Linked DNA regions of Homo sapiens: region 1 is linked to region 2. Evidence: promoter capture Hi-C in 16 types of primary human blood cells and fetal thymus (Javierre and others, 2016). All regions are on one chromosome and are shown on one strand. Each heading gives the region's core, a stretch centred on a gene start or on the middle of the fragment in contact. The rest is flanking DNA. Distances are from core to core; before and after follow the strand shown. Region 1 holds the start of UBFD1 (ubiquitin family domain containing 1). Region 2 holds the start of LCMT1 (leucine carboxyl methyltransferase 1).

The links. The method cuts DNA at HindIII sites, captures the fragments that hold promoters and counts their contacts. A CHiCAGO score of 5 or more calls a contact.
Region 1: a fragment that was not itself captured here is called in contact with the fragment with the promoter of LCMT1 in region 2 in 1 of 17 cell types (naive CD8 T cells); the score reaches 6.0 in naive CD8 T cells.

What each region holds. Positions count from the first base shown.
Region 1 is chr16:23,555,742-23,562,357 of GRCh38, reverse strand. UBFD1 (ubiquitin family domain containing 1) reads right to left here and starts at 4,631. Exons shown (of 7, transcript NM_019116.3): 1 at 4,591-4,631; 2 at 4,079-4,408; 3 at 2,682-2,890; 4 at 87-152. The coding sequence starts at 4,615. It overlaps EARS2 (glutamyl-tRNA synthetase 2, mitochondrial), which reads left to right and starts at 5,008. Exons shown (of 9, transcript NM_001083614.2): 1 at 5,008-5,153. The coding sequence starts at 5,015. RefSeq lists silencers at 4,209-4,388, 4,489-4,578 and enhancers at 3,746-4,389, 4,649-4,848, 4,390-5,034, 5,039-5,318, 5,679-6,323. The HindIII fragment of the contact is 3,053 bases long and covers 262-3,314 here.
Region 2 is chr16:25,109,113-25,116,507 of GRCh38, reverse strand. LCMT1 (leucine carboxyl methyltransferase 1) reads right to left here and starts at 4,766. Exons shown (of 11, transcript NM_016309.3): 1 at 4,512-4,766. The coding sequence starts at 4,624. LCMT1-AS1 (LCMT1 antisense RNA 1) reads left to right here and starts at 4,953. Exons shown (of 3, transcript NR_120306.1): 1 at 4,953-5,112. RefSeq lists enhancers at 4,459-4,618, 4,709-5,038, 4,816-5,343. The HindIII fragment of the contact is 2,890 bases long and covers 3,949-6,838 here.

The DNA.
Region 1 (6,616 bases), core at 539-3,038, 1.6 Mb after region 2:
AAGAGAAGGGACAGGATTGGAGGAACCTCAAGTCAGACGGTGGGGCTGCCTCATTTTCAGAATGCTCACAAAGAAATCCGCCTTACCTGGGCCCCCTTAACAGATGGCATCACATCTTCAGGTTTTCCTTTATCCAACACTTTCCTGTGTTGCTATAAGTCAGAAGAGAGAATGAAATGAAACAGCTGACTACATTTCGTCGTGTTACTATTCCCTTGAAAGAGAGGATGAAGAAAGCCTTAGTGTTTTGGCTCAAAAGCTTTTAATGACGACAGACTATGGATCCTTTGAAACTATAGCACAGTGCTGTCCAGCAGAACTTTCTGGGAGGGCGAATATGTTCGTACCTGTGCTAGCCACTACCTACTGCTGTGACTATTACACACTTGAAATGCAGCTACTATGACTGAGGAACTGAATTCTTAATTTCATTTTAACCAGCCACATGTGGATAGCTACCATATTAGATATCAAAGTTCTACAGCAAACGGGATTTCCAGATTGCCCTCCTCCCCTCAAAAAAAAAAAAAAAAATCACCACTGAAATGATTAAACCATCAAACTAAAGAGGGCGACAAAGGGTGTTGCTCTCCTAGCAGACAAAAAATGGCACCCACCTTTTTCAACTTAAACTTCCAGAGAACACTATAAGATGCTGGTAATCCGTCTAACTGCCTAGGAGGAGCAGTTCTTCAACAAATGGAGACCCAGCCCATCGCCGAAGTTTTCCCCACTGCCCTACCCTTAACTCCAGCTAAACAGGAACCTGGAAGAGCCACCTTTCAGAAAGAAATGCTTATTACTCTATAACCTGACATTAAGAAGCCTCTAAACTCCACCCCTACCACCTGCCCCAAGAACTCTGAGGCAGCTCTTCAAGGATTCTAAGTTCAGGGCCCCTTAAACAGTTCTCCTGCCTGGCCCAAATGCCTGAGTCTTCTTTCTTCTCCATCTGTGGCCTTATAGGCATAGCCACTGCTTGGAAGGCTGGAACTAGGGGACAATGAATGGATAGAAGGTAACAATTTAATCAAATGTAAGCACTAGGCAGCCACAAGCCAGCCCAAATCCTCACTGGCATGGTGGAATCCCTCTGGGAGGAATAAACTCAGCACTGCCAGACTGCTAGCAAAAAGTCACTCCAGACATCACCCCCAGACCCCTTAATAAGCTGGTAAAAAGGCAAGGGACTATATCCCTCTCATTAGGTCATGTGATGCATCATAATTGGCCTCAATGAAACACAGCAGCATGGGCTGGAAGTACAATTCGAGTCACACCTTTCAAGTACCTTTTGAACAAGATTTCCTGTACTGTGGAGAACAGTTCTAAGCCTGTTAAGCTACCATTAGTAACTAAAAACCTGTATTTAGGAGGCATGTTATGCTCCAAGGGTGTGACCATTGCGACCACTCCTATCTGACGTGCTCACATTTCACTATTTCATACATGTGGCAAAGAAAAACAGGAATATGAGAAGAAACTCAATCGGTTTCAAGACACTGAGACCCCATATGTGGGGGTGAAGTCTCCAAATCAACACCTTTTAGATAATTAATATAGGTTTATAACCCCTTATCTGAAACCCTAGAGTTTTGAACTTTCAGGGTTTTGGAATTTTTATAAAGATAATATTGCTTTCAAATACATAACAATCTTCTCTGTGGGGTCTGGGGCAGTACCTTGTCACCAAAGAGGAAAATTCACACTAATTCTGGTCAGGTTTTGCTGTTAAATTTATAAAAACACTTCTCGTTTTTATACTCCTTTGGGGTTTTGGAAGCACACATGGGGGATTATGGATCTGTAACACAAACTGTGTCCTTTTCTTACTGTTGGTCATATATCTTAGTGTCTATGGTCACTAAATGATGTTGATTGAAGTTTATCTACTCTACTTCAGACACAGTTGAGAATACCTGTCTTCCTTGGAACACTAGGAAGAACGATCAGGAGGCTACACAGCAATCAGTATAATTTGCCAGGTAAAAAGATAACAAGTAATGATTCTTACAACCTGTTCCTTCCATAGTAAAATAATCTCACTTTTCCTCGTTACGTGAAAGAATGTTAATGGCTATGATGAGCACAAGACAAGGCAGGATCTCTTGCAGCCAAAAGAACAGAGAACGTAAAAAACCAAGCTCCTATTTCACAGATCAGGACAAAAAAATAAATAAACAAATCCATCAGTGTAGTTGTCTTCCTACTCAGCTTCATTTAGCTTCCTGAAACGGTCAGCTTTAGGGGAACCTCCGAGAGTTGTTGATTTCCATGCCTAGCCAGGCTTGTTGACTTGGGGAAAGCCACAAACCAAAAAGCCAAATGTAAGCACTTGTACAAAATGAGGGCTTACTTCTAGTACTGGTAGTTTTCTCTGGCACTAAATAAGAGAGAGAAACCCACGTCTGATTCCTTTCAACACATGGTCTGAAGCCTCCCTTTACCAAGGTCTTATCCTAAAGTAGGTAGACTTGAGACACACTGACCCGCCAGATGAGACAAAGTTGCAAATCTCAGGTAGTTGTCACCTCCACTCTGCGGCACCCAACTGCTGCCATAAATTTCCATCATGGGCCCTGTCCAAAAAGGAGCTTATTCTAGGGAGAATATAACCAGCCACGGCTCAAGAGGACAAAGCCTCAAATTTCTCAAGACCAAGAAGCACAAGATGGACTCACTTTCTGCCTGCAGAGAGGCTCCTTCTTGTTCTCTTCGGCCTTTGCATCCTGCTGCGCAGCATCTTTGGGTGTGTTTACTGCTAAAACATCATTGATGGTGGAGCCAACCACCATGATCTTGGCCCCACTGGTCACTTTTATTTCTCTCAATGTTTTATCCTCGGGGACGAGTCCCTTATACATGACTTTCTGCATGGCAGGCGGGAGACCTTGGGAAAAGGTAGAAGGTGGACAGTGAAAGGAAGGAAGGACAGAAAAATGTATGGATACTACACAGCTCTTTGGTAACAGACCAAAAAGTGAATACTGCCTCCACCACCTATTAGCTTTGTGAACTTGGGAGATTTACAACCTCTGAACCTCAGTTTCTAGAACTGTAGAAGATTTATTAGAGTAAGTCCTTCTGTACAGACCTGTTTCAAGGATTAAGAGACCAATGCGGGGCATTTAGTACGGTGGCTAGCATTGAATAATTGTTCAGTAAGTACTAGCTCTCATTCTTTCCAAGTTGTTCCTCAGTCATCTAAATCATTCACATATTAAGTGAGAATCCACAGGCATCAGAGCTACAGAAGCCAATAGGGACAAAACTCCTGTTCTTAATGGAGATTACAAGGCTACATGTAGAAAGCTTTAAAAAAAAAAAAAAGTTCAAGGCCAGGAGTGATGGCTTATGCCTGTAATCCCAGCACTTCGGGAGGCCGAGGTGGGTGGATAAAATAAAAAAAACTAGCCCGGCGGGGTAGCGGGCACCTGTAATCCCAGCTACTCGGGAGGCTGAGGCAGGAGAATCGCTTGAACCTGGGAGGCGGAGGCTGCAGTGAGCCAAGATGGTGCCAGTACACTCCAGCCTGGGCAACAGAGCAAGACTCCGTCTCAAAAAAAAAAAAAAATAGGAAAAAGAAAAGAAATCTCAGATGGCAAAGAGCTATGAACAAGGTAAAATTAAGAAACAGAATCGACTGTGAAGAACCAGCATCAAAGTCAATAGCAGCGTTTCCTAAACTTCACTTAGAAGAATTACCTAAGATATTTGCTAAAAATAAATTCCTGGCTACATCCCAGACCCACTGAATCAGAATCTCCTGGGAAAGGGCCCAGAAGCTGTAAAACAAGCGCCTTAGGTGATTTTTTAATTAGAGATGTTAGAGCAACATCAATGAGAAACTGGGGCCTAAACGTCAGACTTCGGCTTTAATCCCAGCTCTGCAACTTACTAGCTCTATAAACTTGAGTCTCTTTCCCCAGCTGAGTAATGGGCATCCAAGTATCCTTCAGAAGACTGCTGTAAGGATGGGGGGACCTGATGCAAGGAAAGCCACCAGGTGCCTAGTAGGGTGCAAGGGCCATCAGGAGGCGGGGTGGGGAAGACTGGCTGTCAGCGCCACAGGAATTACCTGTAATCGAGTGGATCTTCTGTTTCAGCTCGGAGCCTGTGCTGTCCAGGGGGAACTTCACGTCATGCTTGGTCTTATTCCAGATGATCTTCAAGTCCACCAGCTCCCTGCCCGCGCCGCCGCCCGCGTCTTCGCCGTTGCTGACCGAGGCCTGGGCTGCGGGGTCCCCAGGGGGCTGGGCCGGGGCCGGCTGCAGGCTGCCTCGTGCGGCGCCGGAGTCCTCGGCCGCCGCCCCCGCCGCGGCTTCAGCCTCCAGGCAGTTGACGGGCCGCGCGGGAGCCTCAGTAGCCACAGTCTCGGCCTCCGTGTCCATGCCAGGTTCCTCCATGCCTGCAAGGGGGTTAGGGGGTGGGCGCTCGCCGCGGGCTGGGCTTGGGAACGGACGCTGTCCGGGCGCCGCCGGACCTCCGTTCCCGAGCCGCGGTTCTCCCTCCCGGGCCGGGCCGCATCCCCCAGAGGAGCGACCGCAACCTCAGCCCCGGCCCGGCGCCCGCCACCCCCGCCGCACTCACCATCCGGGGCCCCGGCCGCCGCCATGATGATTGTGTACAACACCCACCGCTCCCGCAGAGGCCGCTGGGAAGAGGCGAGCTGGCTGAGATTGGCCCCCGCAGCAGCCCCTAATCTCTCACAGCCCGGCCGGAAACAGGTGGAGGTTTCTATGGAGACCCGCCTCCTCCGCTCCCAGGTCCGGCCCCTGCCACGCTTTCGCTTTCCCAAGCTGAAGGGGGCGGGTCCGGGAAATAGCCCTTTCTCTGGCCTCTGCCCCCTGGTGGCGAGTGCGGCCGCAGCCGTCCAGGGGGGCGTGGGATTTCGCGCTAGGGGGCCTGTGACTTTAAGGGGCAAGGCTGCGCTGGCTGTGGCGGAGGCCGATTGGCTGGAAGCAGTCCCCGGAAGTGACGCAGGGAGAAGCCCACGTGTGCTATTCCATCCCACATGGCGGCGCTCCTGAGGAGACTGCTGCAGCGCGAGAGGCCTTCGGCGGCCTCTGGCCGCCCCGTAGGACGGCGCGAGGCCAACCTGGGCACTGATGCCGGGGTTGCGGTGCGAGTGCGGTTCGCTCCCAGCCCCACAGGTAACCCTGGCGGACGTGACGCTACAGGCCGAGGCCCCCTGTCCCGTCTCCGCCCCACGAATGTTCCCGAATGAATCCTTTCCGGTGGTGTCAGAGTGGGCGGGCGGAGGAGGGTTAAGGCAGCGCGAGCCCATTTTACAGAGGCGGAAACTGAGGTGCAGGAGCGGAAATAATTCAAATTGCCAGGAGTTTCTTGTGTTTTTTGTGCCATCCCATCTCTTTCGATCTTTTTTTCATGCATTCCATACATGTGCATTGATGACAACCTGTGTAACAGGTGTTGTAGACGCTGGGATACAGTGATCATTGAGAAAGGTAGGGGCCTTGCTCTGTGGAAGTCTGCATTCTAGTGGCTGCCGCAGACACTTATAAAAAATAAGTGTAATTTTAGAGTCACATGTGCCATGCGGGAAGTGAAACAGGATAGGAGACTGGGGATTAAGAAGGACGCTCCAGAAGGCTTTACTGAGCAGGTAACATTTGAGCTGAGATCCAAATGACAAGAAGGAGCACGCTATGTGAAGCCTATAGAAGGAACCTTCTGGAGGCCAGGCGCGGTGGCTCACGCTTGTAATCCCAGCACTTTGGGAGGCAGAGGTGGGTGCATCACTTGAGGTCAAGTGGATCACTTGAGAGCCGTCTGACCAACATGGTGAAGCCCTGTCTCTACTAAAAATACAAAATTATCTGGGCATGGTGGCGCATGCCTGTAATCCCAGCTACTTGGGAGGCTGAGGCAGGAGAATCGCTTGAACGCAGGAGGTGGAGATTGCGGTGAGCCAAGATCGCGCCATTGCACTCCAGCCTGGGCAACAAGAGCGAAACTGTGTCTCAAAAACAAAAAAGAAGGAACCTTCTGGGTAGAGGAAATCGCAGGTACCAAGGCACTGTGCTAGTGCTGTTGGGAGCTTAGCAAGCTAGAGGGTGACAGAGGCCCATTGTATAGCCTGTTGGAGATCTCGTCAGGGCCTTTTGGTTCCCACCAGTAAGGCTACCTTCTACGTTCTCTACACGGAGTATGCCTCTCATCCCAAATCCCAGGATGAACATACAAAGATCTTTGTAGTAAAATCCCAGCTATACATGACAGGATCTTTCTGGCAGGCAGTATAGCCTAGAGCAGTGCCTTTCAAACCATCTGTTGTGGAAGTGCTGGTTTTAAATTTCCAATCAATTGTGTATCAATATTTGCACAAAATTAATATAATGACCAGAAAAATAAAATTTTGAAAACATCCAAAATACAAACCAATCTCATTTTATTTGGGTTAGCAGAGGTAAAATCATTCTGCCAGATTGCTATGTAAGTTTCGCCTGGCCAATATGGCAAAACCTTGTCTCTACTAAAATACAAAAATTAGCCGGGCATGTGGCCCAGGCCTGTAATCCCAGCTACTCAGGAGGCTGAAAATCGTTTGAACCCAGGAGAAAGAGGTTGCAGTGAGCCGAGATCGTGCCACCGC
Region 2 (7,395 bases), core at 3,517-6,016:
AGGAAGGCCATGTTGTTCTCCTGTTGGACATAAACAATCGCGCAGACCACCCACACAAGGGCACTCTGCACCACTGATGACAGGAGATGAAACGAGACCACCTCATCATTTTGTCTAAGCAGAGAAAAAAGCAAGGTCACTGTGCCACCCACGGAATACCAGACATCTCTTTCTCCCAGCTGATAGAAGTGACTGTGGCTTCTTTACATGTTACAGCTTTAGCCTTACTCCAGCCAAATCTCCTTCTAGAAAAGACAGAGCTACTGGATAGAATTTTCCCACCTGCTTTCAGTACTCAACACAGAGAAAATCCCTTGACCCTCCCCCAAATCACCCAGCCAAAGCCCATATCCTAAAGGTCTAACACTCTCTTACTGATGTGCCCCACAGCTCCTCATAGTGTGAGTCTTCCCTCCTTGCAACAAGTAATAAACCCAGCTTGTTTAACTACAGGTGTGTTTCTGGTGGTCTTTATTGGAGGAATTCACAACTGTAAAAGTGAAAAAGGATGATTACATTTCTTGGGGGAAGGCTGGGCGTGGTGGCTCATGCCTGTAATCCCAGCACTTTGAGGGGCTGAGGCAGGTGGATCACCTGAGGTCAGGCATTCGAGACCAGCCTGACCAACATGGTGAAACCCCTTCTCTACTAAAAATACAAAAATTAGCCGGGTGTGGTGGCAGGCACCTGTAGTCCCAGCTACTCGGGAGGCTGAAGTGGGAGAATTGCTTGAACCCGGGAGGGAGAGGTTGCAGTGAACCAACATCGCGCCACTGCACTCCAGCCTGGGCAACAACAGCCAAACTCCCTCTCAAAACAAAACAAACAAAGTTTCTGGGGGAGGTTAAGGGAGTTTCATTCTAAGGGTTCCCATTTTCCATGTTGAGCAATAGCTGATATTATCTTGAGAATGAAAAAGGAGTGGGGTAAATCAGAAGTCTGAAGAAAGGGGAAAATGTCTGAATTAAGTATCCGGAGAAAGGGAGAGTGAGTTGATCTGAGAAACAAACTAGGATAGTCAGGTTCTGTTAAGGGCACAGTTGAGGTTGGCTGACATGATCGTAGCGGCACCAAGCCACCCTACTGTGTGATTTCTAGCACCTGTATTCAAGGCAAAAATGGATAGTTTGGTTAAACCAGCATTTTGGGTCTACTAAGACCAAAGGGCAAGGAAGATAAATGCACTGTCAACAGAATTACCGAGGGATGAAGGATGAACTCTAAGTAATCAATTAAGAGGTAACAGCAGAGGGAACATCTAAAAGACAGAGAGAACCACTGAGGTGCTAAGAAGAAATGGGCACAGCATGGGAAATAGAAAATAACTGGTCAAGCAACTTGGAAAAAAGGGGTCAGAGCTGGAGAGTGTTGCACTCTCATCTGTGAGGCAGTGCAGCATCAGGATAAAAGCACAGGGTGTCACGGTGGGAATGGGTGACAGAATCAGATAGGAAGAGGTGATCACTGCAGACCAGGTGTTCAAGAAAGTGAGTGCCTCGTGCATAGGCTCCATGTGGATGCTGAGGTCACCTAAGGTGAAGTCATGAACTGAGGTAGAGGACACTCTGGGCCAGGCACCCCAGTCTTCCATGAATGAGGTGAATGATCAGGAGAGCTGAACAACAGCAATCAGGAGGGCTCCAGTTGGGCAGGAAGGCTCTCCATGGAATGAGACGCGGGAGACACACAGGAGGACACAAAGCTCAAATCCCTGATCCTGAGATACACAGGGCATGAGAAGGAGGAGGAGCCACGGGAGAGGGCTTCAAGAACAGGATATCCCTGAGGAAAGGTCAGGGTGAAGGCAAAGGGAGGGAGGGAATGGCTAAGGAGAGGCTAACAAAATAGAAGCTGATGTTGATTATCAGGTGGTAACTGCAGAGGACATAGTGAGGGGTTGGTGGGATGGTTGGGTCACAGGTAAACAAAAGAGGGGAGAACAGACTCAGTGGCATAGCATGATGGACATCATAAGGAGAGCAGAGAAGGGAAGGAGAGTGGGCTACCATGAAAAGTGCTCAATTGATACCTATTGAGTCAAATGGAGTTAGTGTAAACCTAATATATCCAACCAGAAAACTTCTGATACCACAAGTCCAGGATCACAATGATGATAATGATTTGATGACAATGAGGGGGGTGGTGATGACTGTTAACTACCAATTCTGAACACCTCCAGTATGCCAAGCACTGCTGCAAGCACTCCACATTTCACCTGCACAGCAATCCTCTGAGACAGATAACATCCTACTTATCCGCAGAAGGACTCTATACCAAAGGAAGAAGCAAACTAAACAGAAGTAAAAGATTTACAGGTACCCAGAAGGCTGACTGGCTTTTTATTTTATAGCCATAACTCACTCAGGGCAGCAGGAACCACCCTAACTCATAGCTACTGCACATTCAGCAACTTTAACTAAACAATATTCAGCCTGGAGGGAAGTCAAAACTAGCAATAATAATTTACTGAGGGCTTCACTTTGTGTCAGATCCTCTGCATCGATAATCTCATTTAATCCTGACACCCATAAAGGTTACCTTTATTATCACTGTTTTAAAAATGAAAAGACTAGGCTGGGTGGGGTGGCTCATGCCTGTAATCCCAGCACTTTGGGAGACCAAGGCGAGCGGATCACTTGAGTTCAGGAGTTCGAAACTAGCCTGGCCAACGTGGTGAAGCCCTGTCTCCACTAAAAATGCAAAAATTAGCTGGGCATGGTGGTGTGTGCCTGTGATCCCAGCTACTTGGAAGGTTGAGGCAGGAGAATCACTTGAACCCGGCAGGTGGAAGTTACCAGGAGCCAAGACAGCTGTGGCCAATAGCAACTGAAAGCCACAGAAGAAAAAGCTGAGTATAATCCACTCAAATTCACAAATTTCATAAGGGACTCTCTCTAAGACTTTAATACTTGTGTATTTATTAATTTAATCAATCACCACTTACATGGACTACATGCCAGACACTGCTCCAAGTGCTCTACTAATATTAAATATCATTTTTGTCCACACCCACCTATGATGCGTTATTATACTCCCCATTTTACAGATCAGGAAACTGAGCCACAGAAAAGTTTAGTAATTTCCCCGACTTTATACTGCCAGTAAGTGGCAACGCTCAGTTTGACAGAGTCTAGCTCCAGAATCCATGCTCTGAAAGTTTAGTCCCCAAGAACCTATAAAAAGTGCAAGGTTTAATCCAACACACTGGTTTTCCCCACTCTACAATCACTACGTGGCCTCAGCCTCCTTCTCCCACCTTTAAAGCATTTTTTGAGTTCCTCTAACAGTTCACACTCCTCTGAACACTCTCCTACAACTTTCCTATTTTTCAAGCCTTTTCTTCTCACTTTTTTTTTTTTTTTTTTTTGAGACATAGTCTCGCACTCTCATCCAGGTTGGAGTGCAATAGCGTGATCTTGGCTCACTGCAACCTCTGCCTCCCGGGTTCAAATGATTCTCCGGCCTCAGCCTCCCGAGTAGCTGGGATTACAGGCGCCCGCCACCACACCCAGCTAATATTTGTATTTTTAGTAGAGATGGGGTTTCACCATGTTGGCCAGGATGGTCTCGAACTCCTGACCTCGTGATCTGCCCACCTCGGCCTCCCAAAGTGCTGGGATTACAGGCGTGAACCACCGCGCCCAAACTCTTCTCACCTTAAACATCACTGACAAAATTACAAACTCTAATGGCACTGCCGTATTTGTCAGCACTCAACACAAAAAAATCATAATTATATATTTCATAGGTAATTATTTGCTTCCTGTCTCTCTTTTCCAACAAAGCTGTGAGTTCCAGTATGTCTGACACCATGTCTGTCTTGTTCTTGGTGTATTTCCACCATCGAATTCCTACTAACCACTGCAAAGTAAAGGCCTGGCACAAAGTAAGGTCTCAAAAAATTTTGTTGAATGAAAGAATAAATGGTGGACATTCAAGCCTCAAGCTTTCTCTTTCTCTGACACGTACCTCTGCTGGCTACGCCCCCATCCCCACCACCACACCCTTAACAGTGGAGACTTAGTGCGGTACTGGCTCTGCAAAGAGATATTACTTGGCTCTGGGTGGGTTATTTCCCCTCGTCATCCTGAGTTTCAGGTGCACAACAGGGATCACACCAACCCCCTAAAGAATGCAACCTACAAAAGAGAGAGAACCTACACCTCTCATCCTCGTAACCCATCGAGGCTGGAGCTACTATTTGCTTCATGTCTGTCTTTCCAGCAGCGTTTAGCTCCAAGAAGCCCAAGGCCTCGTCTGTCTGGCTCAGGGGCCTGCTCCCATCGACGATACCCAGGCTGGCCCCCTGCCTGGCTCACAGCAAAAGCTCAGAAACGATTCGTTAAATAAATGAAGCCCTGCTCCGTGCACTTCACAGGTGGGAAGCGAGGGTCGTGCGAGGCGGGGGCTGCATCCCTGCCAGCCTTGAGCGTATTCTTCAGATGCAGGCCCACCTCCCACCTAGGCCCGCGCCCCAGATGCCGGCCCCGAACCCCGCGCCCGACAGGCACCTCTTGCACAGGGAAGCATCTTCGCAGGTGCCGCGCACGCCCTCGTCGTCTGCGTCGCAGCTCGAGGTGGAACAGCAGGAGGTGATAGAGGATTCCCTCTGCCTAGTGGCCATGGGCGTGGAGGTTCCTGGGAGCTGTGTCCGCCAGGGACATGGAAGCGGGGTCGACGGGCGGCGGGGGACGGCGCGAGCCACAGGGAGAAAGCAACAGAAGAGGGTAGGGCCCTACCTGGCTCAGCTGGCGCGGCTCAGTGACGCCGCCCACGCCGGCTACCCCAGCAACCTCTCCGCTTATTGGCTCCTCTTCCGAGTCGCTCATTGAGCAATTCTCCTGCCCGCTCAGCCTACGAAGTTGCTCATTGGATAATTATTTTGGCACCGCCCACATAACCCGGAAATTTGACGATAGGAAAAAGAAACTAAACAGTAGGAGAGTATCGCAATCCTTTCTGGGAAGCGTAGTCTTAGGTGTCTGGAGAAGTCGCCCGGTTTCTGCTTGCTGGTCGCGAAATTTTATAGCTATAATTAACTCAGGGCGGAACAGCTAGCAGAATCCTCAGCGTTCGGGCAAAGGGCAGAGAATCCAGCCAGAAGCAACATGTGTAAGTTGTTACATTCAGTCCGGGCTCAGTGTCATTCAATTTTACAAAATTTTGTTGTGTGCTGACTCTGCCAGCGACTGTGCTGAGGGCTTTGCCCCCAAAATTGCCTTCGAAATGTAGTGAGGGGGGCGGGCGTAGTGGCTCACTCCTGTAATCCCACCACTGTGGGAAGCCGAGGCGGGCCGATCACCTGAGGTCAGGAGTTCGAGACCAGCCTGGCCAACATGGTGAAACACCGTTGTTACTAAAAGTACAAAAATTAGCCGGGCGTGGTGGCGGCCGCCTTAGTCCTGGCTACTCAGGAGGCTGAGGCAGGAGAATCGCTTGAACCCGGGAGGCGGAGGTTGCAGTAAGCCCATGTGGCGCCACTGCATTCCGTCCTGAGCGACAGAGCGAGACTCCGTCTCAAAAAAATAAATAAACAAATAAATAAAAGAAAGAAAGAAAAGAAATGTAGTGAGGGAAGTAGTGTGTGGAAAAGTAATACAATAGGAAGCCATGTAGCAGCGATCATAAATGAACTAGAGCTACCAGGTAGCAGCATCAATGGCTGAATCTCAGAAACACGATGTTCAGTGAAAGAAGGAAGTCTAACAACACTTTTGTAAAGTTCAAACCAAGTAAAACTAATGTTGTTTAGAGAAACGTACATATATGGTAAAATACTGTACAGAGAAGGCAAGACATGAGAAAAAAAAATAAAAAAGAATCAGGATATTGGTGATCTTTAGGGAGCCGGGAGGGTAGCACACAAGAGGGGGAGGGAGAGGCAGGGAAGGAGCACATAGACACATCCTCAGTTTCTCACGTGGGAGTGGGTTCACGTGTGTCTGTTTCATTATGAGGCATATTCAAGATGTTTTGGATTTATTTTGTACTAAATCTAGTACAAAATATATGTATAAATTCAAGATGTACTGGGGAAGTCGCCTGGTTTCTTGCTGGTGATGAAATTTTATAGCTATAATTAACTCAGGGCAGAACAACTAGCAGAATCCTCAGTGTTCGGGCGATTGGCAGAGAATCCAGCCAGAAGCAACCCTTGTAAGTTGTATATGTATAATAATGTTTAATATACATTATAAATTAAAAATGTCTTTGTATATTCCATTTTGTTATCTGTCAGTTGTTGGAAGCAGGAAACAGATATACTTTAAGAACTTTGAATTGCACTCATTTTTTTAAAAAGAAAATCAACAACAGAAACCCAGAATACACACCTTGGAGTGAGGTCAAATATCAAATGCTAGCTCAGTATTCTAATGGAGGCACAAGATCTCATTGATAGCCACAGTAGAAATGACAAGAGGGGAATGACTAAGGGTGGAGAGCTTTGCCAGGGGGAATGCTGATGGGATGAAATACACCATTTTCTTGGAGTGGTCCTTTGCCAAAAGGGTAATACAAACTATTGCACAAGCATCATCTCCCAGCTTAGCAGTGTCCACATTCCACGGGTGTTAGTGGATAGTAAGTGTTAACAGCAAGTACTATACGGTGTTAATCCCACAGGTCTGGACAGTGAGACTGGGGGTGACTGGAAGAAGGCGGAGGCAGATGGGTTTATACACTTTTGTTGTTGGATGAGCCTTTGATTCAAAATAGCTGGTGATTCAGAGGAATTTGGCCATCTTCCAGCTGACCTCCAGGGCCAGCTCATTCCATGTAAGTTCCTGGTTGAGGATCTGAAAGTTTATGACAGCGTGGAGTCTGGAGATTGCAAGCTTAGCCATCTCAGGCTAAATGATACCTTAATGCAAGAGACAATGCTGGGGTAGTCTTTGAGCCATATCCCAGCCAGAGAAAGTTCACTGCCAACTAGACTGCATCTTTTGACAAAGTCAGGAGAAGAGTTGTGGAAGTGTAAAAGCTCTTGGACATTAATATTGTGGGCCAAAAGTTAGGCATTCACCATGGAATCTCTCCCCAAAAGGCTACAATGGACAATTGTTGCTTTGGCTCTCCAGTATCTCTTTCTTCTATAAAAAATAGCTAGAGTGGGCTGGGCGCGGTGGCTCACACCTGTAATCCCAGCACTTTGGGAGTCCGAGGTGGGTGGATCACCTGAGGTCAAGAGTTTGAGATCAGCCTGGCCAACATGGTGAAACCTCGTCTCTACTAAAAATACAAAAATTAGCCAGGCATGGTGGCAGGCGCCTATAATCTCAGCTACTAGGGAGGTTGAGGCAGGAGAATCACTTGAACCCGGGAGGTGGAGGTTGCAGTGAGCTGAGATCGTGCCATTGAACTCCAGCTTAGGGGACAAGAGCAAAACTCCGTCTC